Regions from separate parts of the Homo sapiens genome. Here region 1 is linked to region 2. The links are contacts of gene promoters, found by promoter capture Hi-C in human tissues and cell types (Jung and others, 2019). All regions are on one chromosome and are shown on one strand. The core of a region is centred on a gene start or on the middle of the fragment in contact, and the rest is flanking DNA. Distances in the headings are between cores, read along the strand shown. Region 1 has its middle 140 kb from the start of BMP7-AS1. Region 2 holds the start of FAM209B (family with sequence similarity 209 member B).

Region 1 (6,633 bases), core at 3,563-6,062, 540 kb before region 2:
ACTCTGAGCTCCCTCCCACTGCAGGGTCTTTGCACTTGCAACCCCCCTTGCCTAGATGCTCTTCCTGTAGATGGCCACAAGTCCGGCTCCTCTTGTTATTTAGATCTCATGATCTAAACCATTGCCTCCAGGAAACTTTCCCTGACCACTAAATCCACACTGGCCCTCTTCCCAACCATTCTTTTCCACACTCCTTGGCTTTGTTGTCTTCATAGCTTTTGGTGAAATGCGTCATTGTGTTATTTCCTGTGACCCCCAGCTCCAGTGAGAGCTCCATGAGAGCAGAGAGTTTGATGGGTTTGATGGTGACACTCCATGGGGTAGGGCCACTAGCAAAGATGGACAAGATGGTTAGCTGTCCTAGATCTCACAGAGCAGGACACACCTTCCTAAAGCCAGACTCCCTAGGACCACTTCCATTCCTCTCACAGCCTGGGGAGATCCTCTATCTCTGAGACTTAAGAGAACCTAGCCAGTTGGACACTCCTAACCACCTGGGCTGATTTTCAGCTTGCAACTTGCAGCAGAGAATGGGCGTTCCAATTTCAATTTCAGTTCATGATTAGGGCCTGGGTCATAGGGACCCAAAGGAGCTGGAACAGGGTCTAGACAGGCAGCTCCGACTGTAATCCCTGGGTGTGGTGAAGGCGTGACCTCCACACTGCTGATTAGTGAGTGGGGTCTGGGAGGGGACCATGAAGCCGATGAGAAGCTGGGCATATCTACTCCCCTGATGCAACCCGGGCCCAGCCAGCAATTGGTGAGTCAGCACGTACTGACTCGGCCTGATCCTGGAATTTGGCACAGAATTTGGCTCAGCATAGGCGTCAGCAGGAGAGGGAGCACCGCCTGAGAGGTCGGGAAGCCCAAGATAATATGTGAGAAAGTGTTTCCATATTTTTGAAGTTTCCAGAAGTCAGGAGGCAGTCGAAAGAATCCAGAACTTTTGGTAAAAGCAGCCTGTCATTTGCAGCCGTGGACTCGGACAGGTCTGTTGAAACTCAGTCTCTTCTTCTGAGTCATCCCATAGCGTTGCCCTGAAGATCAAGAGATAATGTGGAGGGAAGTGCTTTGTGGACCTCCAAGGCCAAACCATAAGTCTGTGAGGCAGGAGGTCTGTGTGCAACTGAAATGTAAACTCCTGGAGGCCAAAAACATAGATCTTATCCCTGGTGCCCAGCATTTGGTGGGTGCTACATAACTCTTGGATGAACGTGGGCTGGTGCTGTGTTTACCAGGCTTATTGGTCTTGAATAAGAGAAACCCAACCTGAACCAGCTTCAGATACAGGGGAATCTGACAGAATGCTCCAAGGGCAGCATGCAACCAGGCCAAGGGAACCCAGCAATCAGGACTCAAGCACCTCTTGTCTCTGAACCTCTGCCTCATTCTCTTCTCTCTAGAAAAGATTGGATTCTTTAACTTCTCATGGCCATCAGCAACATCCAAGGTTTACATTCTACCATGTAGGTCCCAAAAGAGTATTTCCCAGGGAAGTATACTGATTGGTTCAACTTGAATCCTGTGCTCATCTCTGGACCAATCAAAGGAAACCAGGAAGTTATAATCATAACACAGTATGGCTGCTTCTACTGACACCAAGTTAATGGTGGTGAGGGGTTCTTGGGAAGGTTCTTTTTCTATTCTTAGAGATGAGGTGCTGAGCTGATAATCCCATGGGTGTGTATGAAAGAAGTCAATTTATAAGAAAGAATTAGTTTTTAGACGTTTATAAAAAGTAACACATTCTCATTGTAATAAATGCTGGTTACAGAAGGGGAAAAATCAACCATCATTCAACAGCTCAGAGATAGTCACGGTTAACCTTCTTCACCTCTCTCTGGCTGTTCCTTCGAGGTCTCCTTTGCTGTTCCTGAACGCTGGAGGGCCCCAGGGTGCATCCTTGGATCTCTGTTTGTTCTATGCATATTTACTCACTCCCTCGTGAGCTCATCCAGCCTCTTCCTGTCCTGAAGATTTCTCAGTTTCCATCTCCTGCCTAAGCCTCTCCCTGACACCTGCCTAGTATATCCAGTGATCCCAACATCCCAGGATATACTAGGGACTGTATATCCTGAGCAACCGTCAAAGTTGGTCCCTTTTGGAGGCTCTGAGGGAGAGTCTGTTCCAGCCTCTCTCCACGCTCCTGGGCTTCTGGGCAATCACTGGCATTCCTTGGCTTGCAGCCATGTCACACCAATCTCAGTTTCCATCATCACATCACGTTTTCTCTGCATGTCTGTGTCTGTCTATGTCTCTGTGTCTCTTCTTCCAAGGACACCAGTCATACTGGATTTGGGCCCAACCTATTTCACTATGACTTCATCTTACCTTGATTATATCTGCAAAGACCCTGTTTCCAAATAAGGTCCCGTCCCCAGGTCTCTTCTGCATAGCCACTGTTTACATATTCCTGTCTTCTCTAAGCCTAGATGCTGCCAGAGTCCCTCTCAGAGCCTTGAAATCCCCTCTGAGGTTGGCTAAGTGAAGATCACCATCCCCACGTTGCAGGGGAGTCTTGAAGAGATGTTGACATGTCCAGGATGGAGCGAGGCATCCCCAATGCCAACGCCCAACGCCAACACCCACCTTCCAGCCACTCACGTTCACTGGCAACAATTTCAAAGCAAACGCCTCAGCGTAGGCTGTGGAGGGAGGGGTGTATGCACTGGCGGGAGGCTGCCTGCTCACCATTCAGCTTTGGATCCCTCCTAACCGGCACCCACCAGGCCAGGCCACCAGTGTCCCCTTCAGGACTTTGCTTATGCAAAGTGGAATGCCCTCTTCTGGGCCCCACACAACCCACCTTGTCCTTCCACCTCAGAGCTAGTGTCCTTTTGGGTGACATCTGCCCTGACCCCTGCCCCGTTCCCAGACAGCGCCTGGCACCTCCCTGGAGCCATCCGCGCTAAACACTGAAGCATGCTCATGTTGCCCTCGGTTACTCTCCCAGTTTCCACTGCTCGGCTGAGCACCCGAGGCCGGGACAGAATTCAGTTCCTGAGGGCCTGGCCAGTTGCAGAGGCCTCTCAGCCAGGTGAGCACAGCAAGGTAAAGGGTCCTGGACCACAGGGGAGCTCCGGAATCAGGCAGAGCTGGGCTTGGATCTCCTCGGATCTCCATCCTCCCATTTAATCTCTGTGCTGTCTTGGGTAAGTGCTTGGGTTGGATCGTGTCCCCCGAAAAGACATCCTCAAGTCCTGATCCCTGTGAATGGGACCTTATTGGGAAATGGGGTCTTTGCAGATGTAACTAGTTAGTATAGGGTCATACTGGATCGAGTAAGTGCTAAATCCAGTGACTGGTGTCCTTAAAAGAAAGGACACAGACACACAGAGGGAAGAAGGCCACGTGACACAGGACACAGAGGTTGGAAGGATATGTCCAAAAGCCAAGGAACACCAAGGATGACCAGCAGCCACTGGAAGCTGGAAGCGGCCAGAAAGCGTCCTCCTCTAGAGCCTGTGGAAGAGCCTGGCCTGCGGGCACCTTGATTTGGGGCTTCTAGCCTCCAAAAATGCGAGAGAACAAGTTTCTGTTGTTTTAAACCACAACCGCAATTTGTTACGGCAGCCCTGGGAAACTAATGTAAGTTACCCTATCCGTGCCTCAGTTTCTTCATCTGTGAAACAGGTATAAGGGCACCAACCCAAGGTGATCCGGATGATGAAATGACAGTTTCCAGCATTTTCCTCCTGTGTGCCGGGCACTGTGCCAAGTGCCATAAATATGTTAACTTATGTAAAACGCTGTGTAATTCTGCTTTAAAATCTTATTATGCTCAGATTACATGTTTTTTAAAAAAAGTGTTGGCTACAAACAGTATGTATAATTCTGTTTTAAAATCGTATTATACTCAGATTTCATGGTTTTTTAAAAACTTGTCTTGGCAACAAACTGTATTTGAACTATTGGTCAACACTTTTAAAATAATGTTATTGAAGTATTATATACAATAACATGCACAGAGTTTAAGGGTGGCATTTGATACATTGTGGCAAACATGTACACCCTTCCACACTCAGAACAAGACGTGGAACACGGCCCCCCTCACCCCAGGAAGACCCCACCTCCTTCTGCCCTGGGTGGCCGTGGTGCTGCTTTCTGGCTGCAGATTGGTTCTGGCCTTCTGGCCTGTTTTCGAGCTTTATGTAAGCAAGATCACCCCGTTTGTCCTCTTCCAGGTCTGGCGTCCTTCCCTTAGGCATCTGTGTTTCAGCTCTATCCTTGCTGCTGCTGCACCCGAAACCTGCTCCTTCGTATTTTAGAGTACCCACTGCATGGGGCACCAGTTTCATGATCCGCTGTCCCGATGCCTGTTCCTTGTTTTCAGTCCCCCGTTCTACAGAGGAGGAAATGAGCCGCAGGGAAGCTTTTGACTTGGGCAAGTTCTCACCGCTACTGAGTCTGGGGTTGGTACGGAGTGACGCTCTCAGCAAAGGTCTATGCTTCTATGCGTATGATAGTGCCTTGCTATGCCAGGCGTGTGGGGAGTGTGCCATGCTATGATAATGATTATTAAGAAATGGCTTAATTAAATATGTGTGATTACATTTATTTCATTATTAAATTTCAGAACCAGGAATGGTAGCTGGTCTCAATGGTTCTACCCAGGACCCAACTGCTGTCTGTCAAATAGGTGTTTGTTCCAAGCAAAGACCTGGGTACTCCCACACTGCGGCTGGAGCCAGCCCTGCAGTAGCCCCACTCCTTCCGAGAGCCCCTCACTCACCCTTCTGGGGGCCTCATTGAGGAAGGCTGAGCAAGAGAATGACATTAAACTTCAAACGTCTCTTTGTCTCTGAAATTAATGGAGAAGAGAAGTCTTTAATGGGTTGCAGACTTGTCTGTGGGCTACAGTGACATGACTCAGCCCAATCATCCTCCCAGCTCTGGCCATCTTGGCTTAGCTGTTTACCAAGAGACCAGGGGATGGAGATGTTGAGGGCTTAGGGTGACGGAGGCAGCACCAAACCTGCACCTCCAGCCCTGGTATGCTGGCATTCAGGAAAGCTGTGCTCGCCTAGCGTGGTCTCCAGTTTCCTTTTGGGGAGTGATGTAGTTCCCTCCTCTCAGGAAAGCAGTAACTCAGTCCTGCCTGGCAGTGGGAGAAGGGCTGTAGAGAGATGTAGAGAGGTGTTTCTTAGCCTGTCACATGCCCAGGAGTTCCCAAGGGATCCTGTGAAAATGCAGTTTCTGACTTGGGAGGTCTGGGGAGGGGTCTGGGACACCGCATTTCTACAGAGCTCCCAGGAAATGCTAAGGTTTCTGGTCCGTGAGCTGTAGATTGCAAGTTGCAATCTGACTTAGGGTATATTCCCATCAACACACCCGCACATACGTGCACACACAGGCTGGAGGGGGAGGTGGAGGGTGGGCATAGAGCTATCTGGGGCTGACTCCAGCTCCACTAGGATTCACCTGTGTGTCTTGGAGCAAGGTAGTCCATCTCTCAGAGCTCCAGTTTTCTCAGCTGTAAAATAGGAGGAAAGCCAGTGACTACATCAGGCTGTTGTGAGGATTAAAGGAGATCACATGTAAGGGGGTTTATGATGAGAAAGGGCCGAGAGAGGAGAGACAGCTAGATGGCGAGAGAGACAGAGAGTGAGGAAAAACACACACAGAGACAGAAAGACAGGGAGAGAGACAGAGAGCCAGGGCGCCAGCAGGCAGCATTCCTTTTCAGACTCCTCTGCACTGTGTGAGTGCCCTAACCGGTTCCTTCCCTCTCTCTCCCCGCTTTCCTTTGTGTATTTATTTATTTACTTGTTCGATGGTTCATTTATTTGTTTTAATACCCCCCGACATCATCTGGGCCATGACATTCTGAGCCACATGATGGAAGGCTCAGGAATTGTTGTAAAGTGTCACTTACATCTCCGATGTTTGTGTGAACAGCACGCACGGCGGTGACAGTGATAATGGAGGTCACGTGAGCTCTCTGATGTCTCATCAGGTCCCGCTGGGCAGCCAGTATCGGCTTGTAATGATCCCTGCAGACAGGTCAGGGGAACTTGCCACAGCGCTGGGTCTCAGTATAGCACTTGCGGTAGTTTTTATTCTCCTCTTTGCATTTTTAGAAGTATTTTCCTAAGTGTGTAATATTTTAATGAAACATAATGTTTGTTGTTAGGGCACATGTAATGAGGACCCAGTATGGGCTATATAGGCGGCTAACCAAGAATGTAATCAGTGTTCCATTCAATCTGCGTGTTCAGTCATCGCTGGAACATCCCAGCCTGTCAGATACCCTCTGCACTGTCAGAAATTCCCTGCATTACGCTTCACGCCTTCAACTCTTGAAAGCCTGATTTTTGGAAGGGCAGGGGTGACTCAAAGACAATTGTTGCCTTTTGCAGCTGATTCTCTCCGTAATATGGAACCCCAGGATTTGAGACAGCATCAGTGGCCGCCTGCCATGATGCCCCAGGAATGTCTGGTCCATCTCCATAAGCCAGGGCTTGGCAGGAGCTTGGTTTGTGGATGAGCCAAGTTCTTGGGTGGGACCTGCTATGATTTGAGCACTGGGGACTGGTCCCTAAAATCTCTCATGTCCATGTTAAAAAGAACTGTTCTCTTGATTGCTACTTCTCCAGCAGTAAAGCACTCACCTAGGTGACAAGATCTCAGCTG
Region 2 (6,971 bases), core at 990-3,489:
CGAGTAGCTGGGATTACAGGCACCCGCCATCATGCCCGGCTAATTTTTGTATTTTTGTAGAGACAGGGTTTTATCATGTTGGCCAGGCTGGTCTCGAACTCCTGACCTCAGGTGATCCACCCGCCTCGGCTTCCCAAATTGCTGGGATTACAGGCATGAGCCACCACCCCCGGCCGGGGTTCAAGCAACTCTTATGCCTCAGCCTCCCAAGTAGCTGGGACCACAGGTGCCCACCACCATACCAGCTAATTTTTTTTTTTTTTGAGACAGAGTCTCACTTTGTCGCCCAGGCTGGCGTGCAGTGGCACGATCTCAGCTCACTGCAACCTCTGCCTCCCAGGTTCAAGTGATTCTCCTGCCTCAGTCTCCCGAGTAGCTGGGATTACAGGGGTGTGCCACCACACCTGGCTAATTTCTGTATTTTTTTTTTTTTTTGAGACAGAGTTTTGCTCTTGTTGCCCAGGCTGGAGGGCAATGGCGCAGTTTCGGCTCACTGCAACCTCCACCTCCCGGGTTCAAGCGATTCTCCTGCCTCAGCCTCCCGAGTAGCTGGGATTACAGGCATGCGCCACTACGCCTAATTTTGTATTTTTAGTAGAGACGGGCTTTCTCCATGTTGGTCAGGCTGGTCTCAACTTCCTGACCTCAGATGATCCGTCCGCCTCGGCCTCCCAAAGTGCTGGGATTACAGGCATGAGCCACTGGGCCCAGCTTTTTTTTTTTTTTTTTTTTTTTTTGAGACAGAGTCTCACTCTGTCACCTGGGCTGGAGTGCAGTGGCTCCATCTCGGCTCACTACCACCTCTGCCTCCAGGGTTCAAGTGATTCTCCTGCCTCAGCCTCCCGAGTAGCTGGGATTACAGGCGCCCGCCACTACGCCCAGCTAGGTTTTGTATTTTTAGTAGAGACAGGGTTTCACCATGTTGCCCAGCTGGTCTCGAACTCCTGACCTCGTGATTCACCCGCCTCAGCCTCCCAAAGTGCTAGGATTACAGGGGTGAGCCACCGCGCCTGGCCTAATTTCTGTATTTTTAGTAAAGACGAGGTTTCACCATGTTGGCCAGGCTGGTCTCAATCTCCTGACCTCAAGTGATCTGCCCGTCTCGGCCTCCCAAAGTTCTGGGATTACAGGCATGAGCCACTGTGCCCGGCCTACACCTTTATCTCCTTACAGAAGTTTCATATTTTGTTGGGATGATATCATTTCCATTTAGCTCAGGAATTTTCAGTAAGTCAAGCACTAGGAAAAATGTAAAAAGCAAGGGAACAGTGAATTTGGCCCTGTGAATAATATAATTTTGACCTTCTAAAACACACCATAAGTTCTTTATTTTGAGACAGAGTCTCAGTCGCCCATGCAGGAGTGCAGTAGTGTGATCTCAGCTCACCACAACCTCTGCCTCCAGGGTTCAAGCCATTCTTCTGCCTCAGCCTCCCGAGTAGCTGGGATTACAGACACACGCCGCCATGCCCAGCTAATTTTTGTATTTTTAGTAGAGATGGGGTTTCACCGTGTTGGCCAGGCTGTTCTCAAACTCCCGACCTCAGGCAATCCACCTGCCCTGGCCTCCCAAAGTGATGGGATTACAGCATGAACCACTGCGCCCGGCTGAGTTCTTGAATCTATCCTACATTTGAAAAAATCCATCTAACCAGAAGAACTTTGAGCCAAGAAACTAGAGGTCATCTTCCACTGTTTGTCCCAATATCTGTGGATGTGGGGACTATTGTCTTCACTAAGGATACATCAGGAAGTGAATTTGCCAGCTTTGCCCAGGACCATGAGGTCGGTTCATTATACCCAACGGTGCCGCCTAGACTCACTAGAACATCCGTTTCCCTGAGACTCCTGAGATTGAATCAATATGGTGTAAAAAAAATGGAGCCATCCTTACCTTATTCTTCTCACTGTCTCTTTGACACTGCAGTATCACAAACGGCACAACAGCAAACAAAAGCCAGAGCCATTTGCTCCCAAGCCAGCCTTGGGTGTGCTCTGGTAGGTTCTGCCGAATCCGAAAGTGCTCTCCACACGGCACCTTCCCCTGGGGTTCGCTAGTTTTCTGTCTCAGAGAAGAGAACATAAAGGCATAGCTGCAGGTGAGGCACAGAAGCAGGACCAGGGACGATTTCAGCGTCCACATGGTGAGCAGAGATGGGGAAGGGAGTTGCTCATGACGGGTTTGCTTGCCCTCGCAACTGGAAGACTGGGCACCTGGTGCCAGGCCCTTGGTGATGTCACAGAGGCCCTGAGCTGAGGCCACCCTGGCCATTGTGATGATTTCAGGACAGAGGTTACAGGTCACAGGAGTCGCCCGGGAGGAGGACTCAAAGGGAGATGGGGGCATTTCCAGCAGGCAGTCAGAGAGAGAGGATAGGCACGACGGGGTGCCAATTCCCTGCCAGGGGACTCTTTCCAACCCTCGAGCTTTTGCTGGTAGAGGCCGTCATGTTTCTGTTTTTCATTTGTTTGATCCAAACACTATGATGAGCAGAGGGAGATGCCATGTGCCCCGTGGAGCTGAGTTAAATGGGAGAGAAAGATATTAAACCACAGGCTACCTACAAACTCGGAGCCACCTATGTGTTTTGTTTGGCCTATGTTGTTTCTAAAAATTATTAGTCAGTACTTAAATGTTGTGGGGGGTGGGTATTTCACTTTAAAAGTCCAGGTTTCCGGCTTCCTTTGAAAATATGAGAGCGTGGCCGGGCGCGGCAGCTCACGCCTGTAATCCCAGCACTTTGGGAGGCTGAGGCGGGCAGATTACGAGGTCAAGAGATCGAGACCATCCTGTCCAACGTGGTGAAACCCCGTCTTTACTAAAAATACAAAAATTAGCTGGATGTGGTGGCACACGCCTGTAGTCTCAGCTACTTGGGAGGCTGAGACAGGAGAATCACTTGAACCCAGGAGGCAGAGGTTGTGATGAGCCGAGATCACGCCACTGCACTCCAGCCTGGCAACAGAGCAAGACTCTGTCTCAAAAAAAAAAAAAAAAAAAAAAGAAAAAGAAAAAGAAAGAAAAGAAAATATGAAGAGTTCTGGAAGCACTGGGCCCACACTGTCATAGAACCAGTCTTCTGCTAGAGCCAAGTGAAATCATCCATCCTGTGGCCATATTCCCTCCACAGTCCCCACCACTCCCTATTACCACATACCATCATTGACAGCAGCAGTGTGTGCCTGCCTTGGGTTAAGAGTATACTTTGGAGCCAGGCCTGGTGGCTCACACTTGTAATCCCAGCACTTTGGGAGGCCAAGGTAGGCAGATCACCCAAGGTCAGAAGTTTGAGACCAGCCTGGCCAACATGGTGAAACCCTATCTCTACTAAAAATACACAAATTAGCCAGGCATGGTGGCATGTGCCTGTAATCCCAGCTACTTGGGAGGCTGAGACGGGAGAATCACTTGAACCCAGGAAGTAGAGGTTACAGTGAGCTTAGATGGCGCCACTGCACTCCAGTCTGGGCAACAGAGCAGGGCTCAGTCTCAAAAAAAAAAAAAAAAAAGAAAAGAAAAGAAAAGAAAAGAAAAAAAGAGTATACATTGGGCCAGGCACAGGGGCAGGGGCTCACACCTGTAATCCCAGCACTTTGGGAGGCCAGGGTGGGCAGATCACCTGAGGTCAGGAGGAGTTCCAGACCAATCTGGCTAACATAGCGAGACCCCATCTCTACTAAAAATACAAAAATTAGCCAGGTGTGGCAATGCACGCCTGCAATCTCAGCTACTTGGGAGGCTGAGGCAGGAGAATCATTTGAACCTTGGAGGCAGAGGTTGCAGTGAGCTGAGATCAAGACACTCTACTCCAGCCTGGGTGACAGAGTGAGACTGTGTTTCAGAAAAGAAAAAAGAGTATAGTTCGATTAAAATTGTGGTAAGAGGCCGGGCACGGTGGCTCATGCCTGTAATCCCAGCACCTTGGGAGGGTGAGGTGGGTGGATCACCTAAGGTCGAGAGTTTGAGACCAGCCAAGCCAACATGGAGAAACCCCATCTCTACTAAAAATACAAAAAAATTAGCTGGGCATGGTGGTGCATGCCTGTAATCCCAGCTACTCGGGAGGCTGAGGCAGGAGAATTGCTTGAACCTGGGAGGCAGAGGTTGCGGTGAGCTGAGATTGTGCCATTGCACTCCAGCCTGGGCAACAAGAGCGAAACTCCATCTCAAAAAAAAAAAAAAAACAAAGAAAGAAGAAAAAACAATTGTGATAAGAACAGGAAGCTTTAGAGACGAGCACAAGGGGACTGCTCTATACTAGGTTATGCAGGAAGAGTGTCCAGAAAAAGATGGTTGAGTAGAGCAGGGGAGATGATTAGGAGTTGGTGGGTAAAATGGGAAGGGGCTGAATCCCCCAAGTGAGAAGGAACAGCTAGCTTGACAACTGAGGCCAAGGCTGGGAATGAACCTAGGACTCCACAGTATACCTGAAACCATGAGTTCTTTAAAATGACATGAAACAAGAAATCCTGGGTGCTGGAATGCACGGCTTGTACTTGTTCCCCTGGGTCATCTGTAGAGCTATCTTCCTGAGGAAGGCTCTGATTCGCAGATTTACTCCCGAGGAGCAGAACTTTATGCTGCATAGGAAATAATCAAGAGTCAGCTGGGCACCCTCGCTGTGCCTTAAATTGTACTGAGCTCTGTGGAGTGACAAAGAAGTTCTACAAGCTATGGCCAGGGGCAGTGGCTCATGCCTGTAATCCCAGCACTTTGGGAAGCCAATGTGAGCAGATCATCTGAGGTCAGGAGTTCGAGACCAGCCTGACCAACATGGTGAAACACTGTCGCCACTAAAAATACAAAAAAAAAAAAAAAAATTAGCTGAGTGTGGTGGTGCATGCCTGTAATCTTAGCTACTTGGGAGGCTGAGGCAGGAGAATCGCTTGAGCCCAGGAGTTGCGGCTGCAATGAGCTCAGATGATGCCATTGCACTATAACCTGGGCAACAGAGCAAGACTCTGTCTCTAAAAAAAAATGAATAAATTCTCCTGAGCAGTCTAGGGGAAAAAGAACAGAACACATGTGGTACATACCATAGTTGTTCAATGAATCCTTCTGTAAAATGATGTCTGATCTGGCCCTTATCAACCCAGCAAACCCAACTTCCTCCATTCCCACCTGCCCTGCCAGCGTCCTCTCTGCTCCTCCACATGACAAACTTGAGCAAACTCTTCCCTTTGTCCTGACATCTGCCTGGACCACTTTTCCAGAATCCTTTTCCTGCCTATGACTTTGTCCTCCATTCCTGCTCCTTGCCAAAATGGCATACAGTAGATACTCAGTATGTTGTTGAATGGATGGATGAGTGGGTGGGAGGGTGGATGGGTGGGTGGGTAGATGGATGGATGGGTTAGTGGGTGGGTGGATGGATGAATGGATGGATGGATGGGTGGATGGTTGGATGGATGGGTGTGTGGGTGGGTGGGTGGTTGAGTGGATTTTTGTTGTCGTTGTTGTTTTGAGACAGAGTCTTGCTGTGTCGCCCAGGCTGGAGTGCAGGGGCACTATGTCAGCTCACTGCAAGCTCTGCCTCCCAGGTTCAAGTGATTCTCACTCCTCAGCCTCCTGAGTAGCTGGGACTACAGGTGCATGCCATCACGCCTGCCTAATTTTCGTATTTGTATTTATTATTTGTTTATTTATTTATTCTTTTTTTGAGATGGAGTCTCTGTTGCCCAGGCTGGAGTGCAATGGCGTGATCTCGGCTCACTGCAACCTCCACCTCCTGGGTTCAAGAGATTCTCCTGCCTCAGCCTCCTGAGTAGCTGGGATTACAGGCACACGCCAACACACCCAACTAATTTTTGTACTTTTAGTAGAGATGAGGTTTCACCATGTTGGCCAGGCTGGTCTCAAATTCCTGACCTCAGATGATTCACCTGTCTCGGCCTCCCAAAATGCTGGGATTATAGGACTGAGCCATTGTGCCAGGCCTGTATTTTTATTTTTTAATTATTATTATTTTTGAGATGGAGTCTCACTCTGTCACCCACTGGAGTGCAATGGCACAATCTCAGCTCACTGCAGCCTCCGCCTCCAGGGTTCAAGCAATTCTCCTGCCTCAGCCTCCCAAGTAGCTGGGATTACAGGCACCCACCACCATGCTTCGCTAATTTTTGTATTTTTAGTAGAGACAGGGTTTCACCTTGTTGGCCAGGGTGGTCTTGAACTCCTGACCTCAGGTGATCCGCCTACCTTGGCCTCCCAAAGTGCTGGGATTACAGGTGTGAGCCACCACACCCAGCCTAAGAATAATTTGTTTTCTTTTTTTTTGAAATACGGTCTCACTCTGTCACTTAGGCTGTAGTGCAATGGCACAATATTGGCTCACTGCAAACTCCGCCTCCTGGGTTCAAGCGATTCTCCTGCCTCAGCCTCCCAAGTAGCTGGGATTACAGGCAGGCACCACTGCACCCGGCTAATTTTGTATTTTTAGTAGAGACAGAGTTTCACCATGTTGGCCAGGTTGGTCTCAAACTCCTGACCTCAGGTGATTCACCCACCTCGGCCTCCCAGAGTGCTGGGATTACAGGTGTGAGCCACCATGCCGGGTCTTCTTTTGGGTTTTAATGGCAGCTTCATTAAACAGGGATGATACACAATCATGAAGAAATGTGATTGGGCCAAAAATTAATATGCTCTCATATTAACAGACTGATTGGGGAACCCATCAGGGCCTGTCCAGATTCCTCTTGGTCTCTCTGTGCAGCTTTCCTTGCTCTAGGGTATGCGGCATGACCCTCTCGAATGAGGTCTTTGGGCTCCCAATCTGATTAGAGTCCTACCTTGGGCAGGGAAAGGAGGACAGAAAGTCAGAGAGAGAGATTCTGTTTCCCTAGGACTACTCCTAAGGACTAAAGCACCCCAACTTTTTTTTTTGGACACAAGGTCTGGCTCTGTCACCCAGGCTGGAATGCAGTGGTGCAATCATAGCTCACTGCAACCTCCACCTCCTGGGCTCAGGGGA

The links. The method cuts DNA at HindIII sites, captures the fragments that hold promoters and counts their contacts. A contact is called where the count stands out against the background at its distance.
Region 1: a fragment that was not itself captured here is called in contact with the fragment with the promoter of FAM209B in region 2 in 1 of the 25 tissues and cell types used here (lymphoblastoid cells).

What each region holds. Positions count from the first base shown.
Region 1 is chr20:57,070,681-57,077,313 of GRCh38, reverse strand. No RefSeq gene overlaps it. Among named protein-coding and RNA genes, the nearest start is that of BMP7-AS1, 140 kb to the left of the region's middle. RefSeq lists an enhancer at 5,658-6,221. The HindIII fragment of the contact is 6,302 bases long and covers 1,662-6,633 here.
Region 2 is chr20:56,528,514-56,535,484 of GRCh38, reverse strand. It overlaps FAM209B (family with sequence similarity 209 member B), which reads right to left and starts at 2,239. Exons shown (of 2, transcript NM_001013646.4): 1 at 1,895-2,239. The coding sequence starts at 2,143. It also overlaps a transcript of FAM209A not described here. The HindIII fragment of the contact is 6,468 bases long and covers 1,676-6,971 here.